2 separate regions of the Homo sapiens genome follow, and region 2 is linked to region 1. Evidence: promoter capture Hi-C in 16 types of primary human blood cells and fetal thymus (Javierre and others, 2016). All regions are on one chromosome and are shown on one strand. Each heading gives the region's core, a stretch centred on a gene start or on the middle of the fragment in contact. The rest is flanking DNA. Distances are from core to core; before and after follow the strand shown. Region 1 holds the start of SLC6A17 (solute carrier family 6 member 17). Region 2 has its middle 9.0 kb from the start of CYMP-AS1.

Evidence for each region. The method cuts DNA at HindIII sites, captures the fragments that hold promoters and counts their contacts. A CHiCAGO score of 5 or more calls a contact.
Region 2: a fragment that was not itself captured here is called in contact with the fragment with the promoter of SLC6A17 in region 1 in 1 of 17 cell types (neutrophils); the score reaches 5.3 in neutrophils.

Annotation. Positions count from the first base shown.
Region 1 is chr1:110,147,000-110,152,635 of GRCh38, forward strand. It overlaps SLC6A17 (solute carrier family 6 member 17), which reads left to right and starts at 3,495. Exons shown (of 12, transcript NM_001010898.4): 1 at 3,495-3,884. RefSeq lists a silencer at 3,490-3,539 and an enhancer at 5,168-5,462. The HindIII fragment of the contact is 4,529 bases long and covers 2,265-5,636 here.
Region 2 is chr1:110,478,655-110,483,903 of GRCh38, forward strand. It overlaps the pseudogene CYMP. Among named protein-coding and RNA genes, the nearest start is that of CYMP-AS1, 9.0 kb to the right of the region's middle. RefSeq lists an enhancer at 4,625-5,203. The HindIII fragment of the contact is 7,718 bases long and covers 1-5,249 here.

The DNA.
Region 1 (5,636 bases), core at 2,245-4,744:
GAAGTCTCAAGGGTGATTATTGGGGTTTTGGCTGGCTCAACTATTCACAGAGCCAGGGAGCACAGGAGGAGAAGCAAGAAGCCAACTGCTGAATGTTCTGCAGGGTAGATCTTTGAATGTTGAGTTCATTTCTTCAACATGTGTAGCTCTGTGGAGCCAAGTGGAAAGGTGGAGTTGGAGGGTGAATATGTGGAGCTCAGAAGACTGTCTGGAATGGAGACAGACATGCAGAAGTCATCAGTGTAGGAGATGGTCTAGGAAGGGTACAGAGTGAGAAGAGGGTTTGGCTGCGAGACGTCCAACACTTAAAGATCAGCAACGGAAACTGAGGGGTGAGCAGAAGGCTAGGAGGAAAACCTGGGAGCGCAGAATTCCAGAAGGGGAGGGAAGAGAGTGTCAGAAGGAAGGAGAGGGCACCCACAATAAGCATTACAGAAAGGTCAGTAAGATGAGGACTGGAAGATGTCCTGTGGATTTAGTGACACAGAAGTCACTGGTGACCTTAGTGAGACCCTTCTTGGCAGCATGATGGGGCAGAAGTGTGTTAAGGAGTGTGTAGGGGTGAGGAAATGGAGGCAGAAAATGAAGAAATGAGGGATGAGAGCCTAGTGACATTTTTTTTTGAGATGGACTCTAGTGACATTTTAAAGGAAGATATTTGCATATGCTCTCGAGCTGCTAAAAAGCATCCAGAGAAAGGGAAAGTTAATGAGACAGACAGGAGAGACTGGATTAACTAATGGGTAGCTGAGGTTCTCAAGAAGGTGTGGGGCCATGGGACCCAGGGGACAGGTGGAGGCTGGTCTACAGAGGAGAGACTCTCCCTACCATATCCAGGGAAGAGGGAGAAGAGGGTATGTGCAGATGGAAACGGTTTAATTCTCGTTGGAAAACCGAGGGGTCTTCCAAATGAAGTAAGGCAGTTCCTGAGACAGCAGGGAAGTATGACGTGGGGGGAAAGTAGGATGAGTGTTTGGGGAGAGTTCTGGTTGGAATGGCCTTGATCAGAGTGGGGAAGTAAGTTGACCAGAGAATTACAGGGAAGTCCTTAGGAAGTGTGAGGAGCCCACTTGAAGTTGGTGGCCATGAAGGCAGACAGAGACTGGTCTGTGGTGTGTTTCTGTCTAGAGAACTTGGCACAAAGAAACCAGGTATTAAGTTCATTCAAGGGTGGGGTTTCACTGGGTAGATGTGATAAAAGGCAGTGAGGCAAGGGCATCTTCTAGTTGTCACCTTGATATCCCACAGACATGTCATTTTCAATATGTCCCAAATCCATTATCTCTTTACCTTCTTCCCCAAATCTGCTCCTCTTTCTAAATTCCCCATCTTGGTTAATAACAATACAATCACCTAGTAATACCCCTAATAACAGTTATTTATTAAGAACATGTTATCAGATATGATAACAGATATTTTACTATTTTTTTTTTTTTAGAGAAGAGCACTTGCTATGTTGCCCACGCTGGGCTTAAGCAATTCTCCCAACTTGGCCTCCCAAAGTGCTGGGATTGCAGCTGTGAGCCACCGTGCCTGGCCAATAACAGATATTTTAGAACAATCATCTCATGATCATCATAACAACCTTATGAGGTATGTACCATTCATTTTACAGACACGGAAACAGAAGTTCAGAGAGGTTGTGTCACTAGCTCAAGGTCTCTAGTAAATGGCAGTCAGGATGAAAACTTAGATCTATGAGGCTCCAAAGTCCTTCCCCTTTCCATGACCACACCACCTGTAAGTTCTCTTGCCTTAATACTGCCTATCTCTGATAGGTTCCTTCCTCCCACCTCCCATACCACGTCAATTGTCACATTCTATTTGTTCATCTCTGTCCTGTCTCTTGCTACTTCCTGCCATGCCACTCCACCCCATCTGCTTCCCTGGTTGCTTCCACCAGAATGTAAACCCTATAAGGGCAGAGATTATTATCTGTCTCATTTTTTGCTGTCTCCTTAGGGCCTGGAACAGTGTAAAGTAACCATTAGGCTCACTAAATAATTGTTGAAAGAATTTTTCTATCAGGAGATAATTCTCTATGGGTTTATTGTGTTCCCACAAGTCTTGTGGGCAGAGGCACTGATGGCTTTTTTGTTCCCATTATCTTTTAGAGGATGGTTGCATAGCAAACAGCCTCCAACGATAGCGTCTCCCTCTAGTGGAGAGCAGTTCTGTTTGCTGTCCAGTATAATAAAGATATGTCTAAGGCAAATGTCGGGCAAGTTTGCTTGCAGCGCATTATAAAAGATTGAGGTTTCCTAAGCTTGGAGTTTCTCAGTGTGTGTGGTCCAGTCTCATGTCCCACCCATAGGACTTCAGAGTTAAGGGAAGGTGATCTGAATGTGAAGCTCTTGCAGCCTGCTGTGCCATGAGTAATTAAAGTCCTTTGTGTCTGGCCCAGAGTTTCCTGTCTTCTGATGGCATCCATGAAACTGGCAGGGTAACTTAGATTGTAAGTGTAAAATCTCAGACTCTTCAGAGTTCTTGACAATGGCCCTTACCACCTTTCACTAAGACAACCTCCATCTCCCATTCCTCCCAAACACCTCCCTTGGATGCCAAAGGCCCCCTTAGTGTTCCCTAGAAGAGAGATAATTCATCCAGACTCTCATAACAGCCCCCCAAGGCCCTGGCAGGATGGCTCCTGCCTCCCTGTCTAACTTCACCTCTCATCATCCCCACCCCTGCTCCAGCTCAGGCAACCACCACCCCACCCCACGCATACGTTTCTACTCTCTTGCATCTATGCCCTTGCCATGCTGTCCACTCCACAGGGGTCATCCTTCTCCCCTTCTGACTGTCCATCCTTTAGGCCAGGATCTTCCAAGAGGCCTACTCAGAGACCAGTCAGAATTTCCCTGTCACTGTCTCCCCACTTTACTCATCTTGTACGGTTCTCCAATCCTTTCGCTTTGTACTGTAAAGACCTGGGTCAACCCACACTGCCTCTCCAGGAGGTTCCCTCACGTCTGTGATCCTTTCAGCCTCTGCAGCCCCTGGCATACAGTAGGTGCTCAACAGATGAGTGATGTCCTAAGAGTTGACCTGCACAGGGAACGGCCTTGCAGAATGGTAGGATGGAAGGACGGAGGAGTGGAAGGACATCTAGAGGAAAGGGAACAGAAGCACGGAGGTGGAAATGTCTAGGGCAGGGGAAATAACCACATGAATTGAGATTGAGTTCATTAAAGAAGGCCAAAAGAGGTGAGTCTGAAAAGAAGAAAGTGAGGCCCAGGGTCCAGGAGGGCTTTAACCATTGGGGCCCCATTCCTCTCCGAGGGCAGAAGCCCTGGCGAGGGCTCCAGGGTCTGCATCCCCTGACCAGGGGCCTCAAGAAGCTAAGCCCCCTTGCAACTCCCTCTCCCGCCCCACGCCCACCCTCTCCGCCTACGTCGGCCATCAGAGCCTCGCTCGCTGCCCGAGAGCCTCGCATTGACGCCGGCCCGCGCGTGAGTCAAGCCTGCGTCACGGCGCCCCGCCGCCAGGGTGGCCTTTCGGAAAGCGAGGGAACAGTGCGCGCAGCGCTCCGCCCAGCTCCGTTCTGCTCCGCAGAGCCGGCGCTGCCAGGGCGCAGGGAGGGCGGCACTCGGCCCCAGTCTTCGCAATCCCGCGCGCTCTCTCCGCCGTGGGACCTGGGTCCCCGCGCCGCTCCCCTGAGCCCCGAGCGCGCGGCGGGCGGGAGCCAGGTTGGGACTGGTGGTGAGGCAGGGAGTGAGGAGCGAGCGGAGTCGCGTGCGCCGGCGCGCAGCTCCGGGTCGCCCCAGCCCCAGCCGGGGGCCTGTGGCCCGGGGGAGGAGCTGTGCGTCCGCGACCCGTCGGGGATCGCAGCTGCTCGGCCGGAGTGCACGGGCCGAGTCTGCGCGACTACCCACGCGTGACAGGTGAGTCGCTGGCCGCGCCCCGCCTGGCTTTACCGGGCCGGCCACTGCAACTTTCCCTGTTCTGGCCCCGCCCCAGCCAGGGAGGGCTGAGGACCAAGGTGTGAGGCGGCGCTGCCCCCGCATCCGCCCGACCCTGCGCTCGTCCCGGGCTCCTCTCGCCGCTCCAGCCGCCGTTGCCTGGCGACGGAGCCCCGGGGCCCGCTCTCCTTCGCGCATCGGGGTCCCCAGCGGCGTACGCACGGGTTGGACACCGGGCTTCAGCTTCTGGTGCTCAGAAGGGCCCAAGAACTCCGGAGGAAATTGGGCTTAGCTGCGGAGGCAAGCGCCCGCGGAGAACCGGAGGGGGCCTGTCCGGCCCATCCGCGGCTTGAAACTGCGCGCCCAGGGCGCAGTTCCACTGGGAGCCTCTTACGCAGCTGGAGACCCCAGCCCCAGCCGCTCGGCCTCAGGCCTGTGACCTTGACAGTAACATTGGCAAGCGAAGCAGAACTGTCACGCCCGAGATGAATATTTAATTCTCAGTCCTGGGGCTGGTCCTCGCTGGATTCGGAGCTAGCAGAGAGCCCTTCCTCCCTCGTGGGAAGCGCATCTGGGGAACGGAATGGCTGAGACAGGGGACGTGCGTGTGGTGCCCATCTGGAGGGGGCGCCGTCCTGGCGGGTCGAGAGGCCTCTGCTGCATTTATGCCTGTGTGCGCCGTGCTCTGAAGCGATGCTGGATGCTCGCAGTACTATGGGTGGGCCGCTCCCCAGGGGCGCGGCTGCCTTGGAAAGAAGCGTGATGTTTCCTTTTAAAGCCCAGACAGCCCTGTCAGAAATCAAATTCAGAAATCCCAAGGCCATTCACCTTACAGGACCTAGGCCCTGTCAAGTTGGCTTTAGAAAATATTTTTTGATGCCATTCCTCTTTCCTTTTTTTTTTTAAGAAATACTTTAACAGGCCTTTTGGATTACGAGATTTCTAACCAGAGCTACCTTTGGGCAATTCAGCTGTGAACTTGAGGCAGATGGGGGTGGGTTGGGGAGACAGGGAAGTGGTAATGAGGAGGAAGATTCTTTTCCGGGCATTGTCCTTGTTAACAGGAACTTCAGGAACAAAGACAATCCTGTAATGGCTCCAAAAAAATTCGGCCAAAACTTTAGTTAGCGCCTAACTGTTAAGGCCTTGCTGGACACGCTCACTGATGTCTGGAGAACAAGGTCAGAGTGTGTTGAGGTTAACAGTGGGGAGTTCTTGTGTCTCGTTCTGTGCTTACATTATCCCATGGCTCTGTGAGGCGGACCCATCACCTGGGCAGGAAGAGCTTTGAGGTCACACCTGATTGTCCTTGGCCATGGCTCATCCACGAGGACCGTCAGAGGCTTTAGCTCCACTGCCGGATTTTTCTCCAATGGAACATCTGTGGCTAAGTAGGTGGTTGAGTTTCAGCGAATCCCTGAAGCTCAGCCTGGAGGGTGACTCAGTGCAGGAGGCAAATGGTGCCCACCAGCTCTGATTGGAGTGAGTTTGTTTGGCCTGAGTCACACACAGAGTCGTGTGTCAGCTGTTTGTGAGTTGATTGGAGTTCTTTAGCAGGACTCGTGAGCAGGAATGGCCTGAGCCCAAGTGTTTTGGGCAGAGGTGGGCAAGTCCTCTGAAGGAGCTAAGCAGAGCTCTGGCTGTTGAGCAAGGGTCCTGGAGCTCTGACTCCTTGGGAAGGTGAGCAGGGCCAGGCTGGGCTGGGCAGGGAGATGGGGAGAGGTGAAGGGGAGG
Region 2 (5,249 bases), core at 2,300-4,799, 330 kb after region 1:
AGAGCCCTAGCCCTAGATGCGGCAGACAGGGCCCATTGCACATGGATATTACTATCCTGAGGGGTGCCAAGAGGTGGGGAGGAGTGAGCTTGAAGCAGAGCTGCCTCCACACCTGATTTTGTAAACAACTGGGCCCTGTGGTGTAGTGTGCATTGTGTTAGACTAGGAGTCTCAGGATAGTTCCAAGCTCTGTCTTCATTACAGGCCAACCCTTTGACCTCTCTGAGCCTCCATCTCCTTGTCTGCAGGATATCATAAGGATGTCACTTGCTACTTCTCTGGCTGCTTCTCAAAAGTAGTGGCAAGGCCATGCACTCATTCATTTGCTTAACCAAACATTCCTTGAGCACCTACTATGCATTACGCTTGGTGCTGTGTGGCAGGAAGCACTGCTCAGAGGCAGGGCCATCAGCATGGGGCAGGGCGCAGCGCCTGGCAGGGCGGCCACCTCAGGGAAGAAATCAGGAAGCAAGTTGTGCTATTTAGCGTTGACTTTGATTTCTGCTCCCGGCATCTGGGGAGGGTGGGTGCCACAAGACAGCTGGATGTGTTTGTGGCCACTTCCCAGGGCATGAGGAGCGGCAGTGTCCTGGCCTTTTGGGGACCTGGCCTTCGGCTTTGTGAAGGGATGCGGCAGGGTGGGAGGCATTGCCATGGTGGGGATCAGATCTCACCACATTCCTCATTCTGTTACAAAACATCAGTTCTCTTTACTGGCCTTCTGAGGCTCCCTCCTGAGGTTCCCTCCTGAGGCCCCTGCAAATCAAATGTATGCAACTCCAGAGCCTGTCCCTCTCCATGGCACCGGTGTTTCTGCTGCCACCACATGCCAGCCTCTTTGGCTGCTCCTGCCTACCCTTTCTTACATCCCCACCAGGCCTCCTTCTCCACGTGGACATCTGTCCTGCCAGGCATTGGGCAGCTGGCACTCCCACTCTCCCATGGACCTGAAGCCCTTGCCTTCCTATTTTGCCCACCTTACCCTTACACAGTCCTGATTTGCCAGCGTTAGCCTCCCCTGGTCCTTGGAACATGATCTTCTCCACCAGCTTCATGGCCACATCCTTTGTTTTCCTTCTTATCCTGACTCTCTCTCTGGCTACAAGCCTCAGAGAATCTCTGGCCTAGACTCCAGGGGCCTCTACTCAACACATCCCCTGCACATGTGCTTCTGAGGCGCTGTCTCTGTACACTCCAATGGGACTCAGAGGCTGAGTCCTGGCCTAAGCTGTTCCCTACCGTATCACTGCCATATTTCCCTTCTTCTTCTATGTGGGGGCACTTGTCTGCCTTCCTGGTTCAGCCCTGCCCCGTTCTTCCAATGCCAGTGTGATCTGGCATCGATTTACCCCTCCCCTCCTCAGCACCCTTCCACCGTGGAACAGGGCCTATGTCCCTAGGGGTGCATGTGCCTTGGGCCTGCCTTCTCTCTTAGACTGTGCTCTGTAGGAGTGGAGGGCACACCTGCTCTGTGCTCTAAACCCCAAGCTCCACTCACGGGGATGACAGAATGAACAATTCCTCTCTGCCGCAGATGCCACTTTGAGGGAAGACCGAGTACCCCTGCCACTAGAAAATTGGGCTGGGGGCAGATTCATGGATAGGGCAGGCTATCAGCTTCCAGTGGAGTCAGATCACGGGAGGGGAGGCAGATAAGGTTGGAGTGGGATCTGTGGGGAACAGGCCTCTTACAGTGCATAAGGTGGAACATGGAACACATTTCTGGCAGTGCCTCCCCTGTGTTGGCTCGAGAAGTCCCGTCTGCAAGTGGGGAGCAGGTCAGAGAGGCCTATGTTGACATTTCTCAGGCTGAAGACCAGGCATGTATATCCTTCAACTTTGAAGTCCCTGGAATACAGATATTCTGAGACAACACTCAGGATACCTAAGCCCCATGCTGATAAGGGCCACAGATGGCCTCACTCGGTGTGAGTGGTCCTTATCAGCATGGGTCTTAGGTATCCTGAGTGTTGTCTCACTGTATTTGTGGAGTGACCTACAGTCAGGAGCTATCTCTGAAGTCTGGGCTTCCAGCCACAGGACACCTGGCTCCCTCTATAAAGGCTGTGGAGTGGGCTCTGGCTGGAGCAGTGGCCAGTCTGCAGTCCAGGATGAGGGGCCTTGTGGTATTCCTTGCAGTCTTTGCTCTCTCTGAGGTCAATGCCATCACCAGGTGAGTGTCAGAGCCCAGGGGAGGGCAAGGGCATCTCATCGTCCTCTCTGGGAGGTCTGTCCTTGGTCTTCCAGCCATTGGTCCCCCAGGGAGTCTTGGGAGAAGTGCTGCAAGTTCCCAGGGTAACAGCTCCCTGTCAGTCTTGCCTTTGCATGCTGGGACCTTTGCTTCTGTTTACCCCAGCACTTCACAGTGTGGTGAAAAGAACAGGGAGCCAGATGGGCAACTGGGAGGATAGGGCATGGCTCTGGAGTCAAACTACCTGGGGTTTGATCCCCAGCTCCATCACTAACTTAACTCTCTGTGCCTCAGTTTCCTCCTCTGTTCATAAAATTTGAATAATGGTAGTGTCCATCTCATAGGGATGTTGTGAGGATTATAGGAGTTAATATTTAAAAAATGCTTCAAACGATGCACACTGTAAGAGCTATGTATGCATTTGTTAAACAAAATAAAGTTCCCTATTGTACTAATCCTTTGTGGGTGAAGATCTCAGGTTCTCCTCCCAAAGTAATAACTGACATTGATTGAGCTGTTTGCTCCTAGGTGCTAGGCACTCCACTAAGCCACTAATCCTCATGGATTAAGTACATATTATCATTTGCAATTTACAGATGAGACACTGTTGTTTAGGAAGGGTTCCTAAGGAGGGTCCCTGAGCTGTCCGAGGCTGCATGGCTAGTAATGGAGGAGCTAGGACTTGGCCTCCGTGGATTTGCACTCTTGCCATCACATCACGTGGTAATCTACAGGTGCTCAGGTTTGAGTCTGGTCAAGCCCTGAGCACAGAGAAGCCCCGATTACTCCCTGGGAAAGCTGGATCCCAGAAAAGGGGTCAGGGTGCTTTCAACTGGCCCGGAATCTTTGTGGCAGTCCTGAAAATAAAGTTCCTCCAGGTCCCAGGTGCGCTATCTGCCCCAGCACTTGGGATGTGAACAGCCTGCGAAAATCCATTCTCTCTGTGAGTTTTAACACTGCTGCCATTTATGGCTCTCAAAGCACATCTCAACAGTCTCACAGAGGAGGACCACGTGATTCTTAGAGGTAAAAGGGACTGTGGGAATCACTGAGTTCTACTTCTGTCTATAGGAGAGGAAACTAAGGACCAGAGAGGTTAAGCCATAGGGCTAGTCAAACGCAGGGCCAGGAGAATGGCTGGAAAGGAAGGGGTTAACCTAAGGGAGTTGAAACTCAGAGGGCTTTGGGGAGCCACCCAAGTTGACACAGACAGGGCAGTGCCAGGTCTAGAACCAGTTTCTGCATTTCCTCTCTTGATCTCTTCACTGTTGATCTGCCTCCATCATCTAAAACTCGAGCTCCCTCAGGAGGCCCCTGTGAGACCAGGCTCTGTGCTGAGAAACCGTTTGAGAATTTTCCACTCGTCTTAGGGAAAAAGCTATCCAGAGAGCGGAGAAAGGGTATTGACAGAGGGCAGGATCATTGTCGTAGCATTTGTCAGCTTGTGGGAGACACCGTTTTTCACTGCAGACAGTGGGCTCCCGGCGGGCAGAGACGGTGTCCTTTCCAGTGTTGTGTCCCCTGTGCCCTGTACAGTATCTGGCACAGCAAGAATTTGGTGACTGAATGAGTGATAATGTGCTTAGTGCTTTTCAAACCACGGGTTTCGAAACTTATTAGTGGGTTGCAAAATGCCTCTAATGGGTCTCCACCAGCATTAGAAAAAGAGAAAGCAATATAAAATATGAGAGTGCATTGCAGTTAGCAAGGATAGGCATTGATTTTTGAACCGATATAAAATACATTTCTTACTTTGAGTTATGATTTAAAAAAAGTTTGAAAGCCCTTGACCTGGGGTCAGTGGGCCATTGATCAGAAGGCTGGCTGGGAACAGAGTGTACCGAGTGGTTTATGGAGCCCACTTCTGGGAGGCTGGGCAGCCTGCGGGAGATGCACACCCTCCTTACAAATTCTTCCCCATCTCCTCAGGGTTCCTCTGCACAAAGGGAAGTCGCTGAGGAGGGCCCTGAAGGAGCGCAGGCTCCTGGAGGACTTCCTGAGGAATCACCATTATGCAGTCAGCAGGAAGCACTCCAGCTCTGGGGTGGTGGCCAGCGAGTCTCTGACCAACTACCTGGATGTGAGTGGCTCTGCCAGCCTTTCCACTAACGAAGTGGAAAGCGCCCCTCGGCCCCTGCCTCACCACAGCTGTTTCTCTTCGAGAAATCTTGGAGTCTGTGGTAGAGGCAGTCTCCCTGCCCTCAGTCAGCTCCACGAGGGGCTGGTCGACCCAGAAAAGACAGTGCTCCTGCCTGCCAGCTCTGAATGCCACCACCAGGAGGGTCTGAGCTCAGGCGCCTTCCTCACACAACATCCCCCAAGAGTGCATGAACTGCCCCCCTCCCCAACGCCGCCTACCATCCCAACCCTGCACCTGCCTTCCGGGCTGGGGAAGTTCTGTCTTAGTCTGGCTCAGCAGGGATGGAGACAGCGGGTGCCATTCTGCAGCTGCCCAGGACGCGGCTGCCAGCTTGCTCTTCCTCCCACCCAGGACCCAGGCAGGAGCGCCCCTGGTACCTGTTCTTTCCTGGAGCTTGTCTTTCTCTCAGCCGTCACTCTTGCCAGTAAACAACCAGCCTTTTTTCTCTTCTGTGCTCTCATTTTCTTATCTAGGTCATCTTCGCCACCCGCCCCCAGCCTCTGCTCTGACAGTGGGGAGAGCTGGCGAGGAGGCGCGCGTGGCAGGGGCCACTTGGGCCGGAACATGGAGCCCACACCTAGCTGATGCCCCACCTCTCTGTCCAGATTCTTTTTGCCCTGGCAGGGGTGGCCCATGTCCCACCCAGGCAGGATTTAAGTTTAGGACCCAGGTCTGCTTCTGAGGCTGATTCCAGCAGTGGTTGTAGGACTTGTGGAAGGATGAGGCCAAGTGTGTCTGGGGGTGGGAGCCCAGGTGAGGGCTGGAGGTCAAGAACCCTCTTCAGTATCTTCCCCCTCCTTGAGACACCCAGGTCTCTGGGCAGAAAGCACAGGGGCTCCACAAGTGCCCCTGCTCCCCGCCCACCGTTAATCCACACCCTCCTGCCCCCTGATGCTCCCACCTCTGACCCAGTGCCGT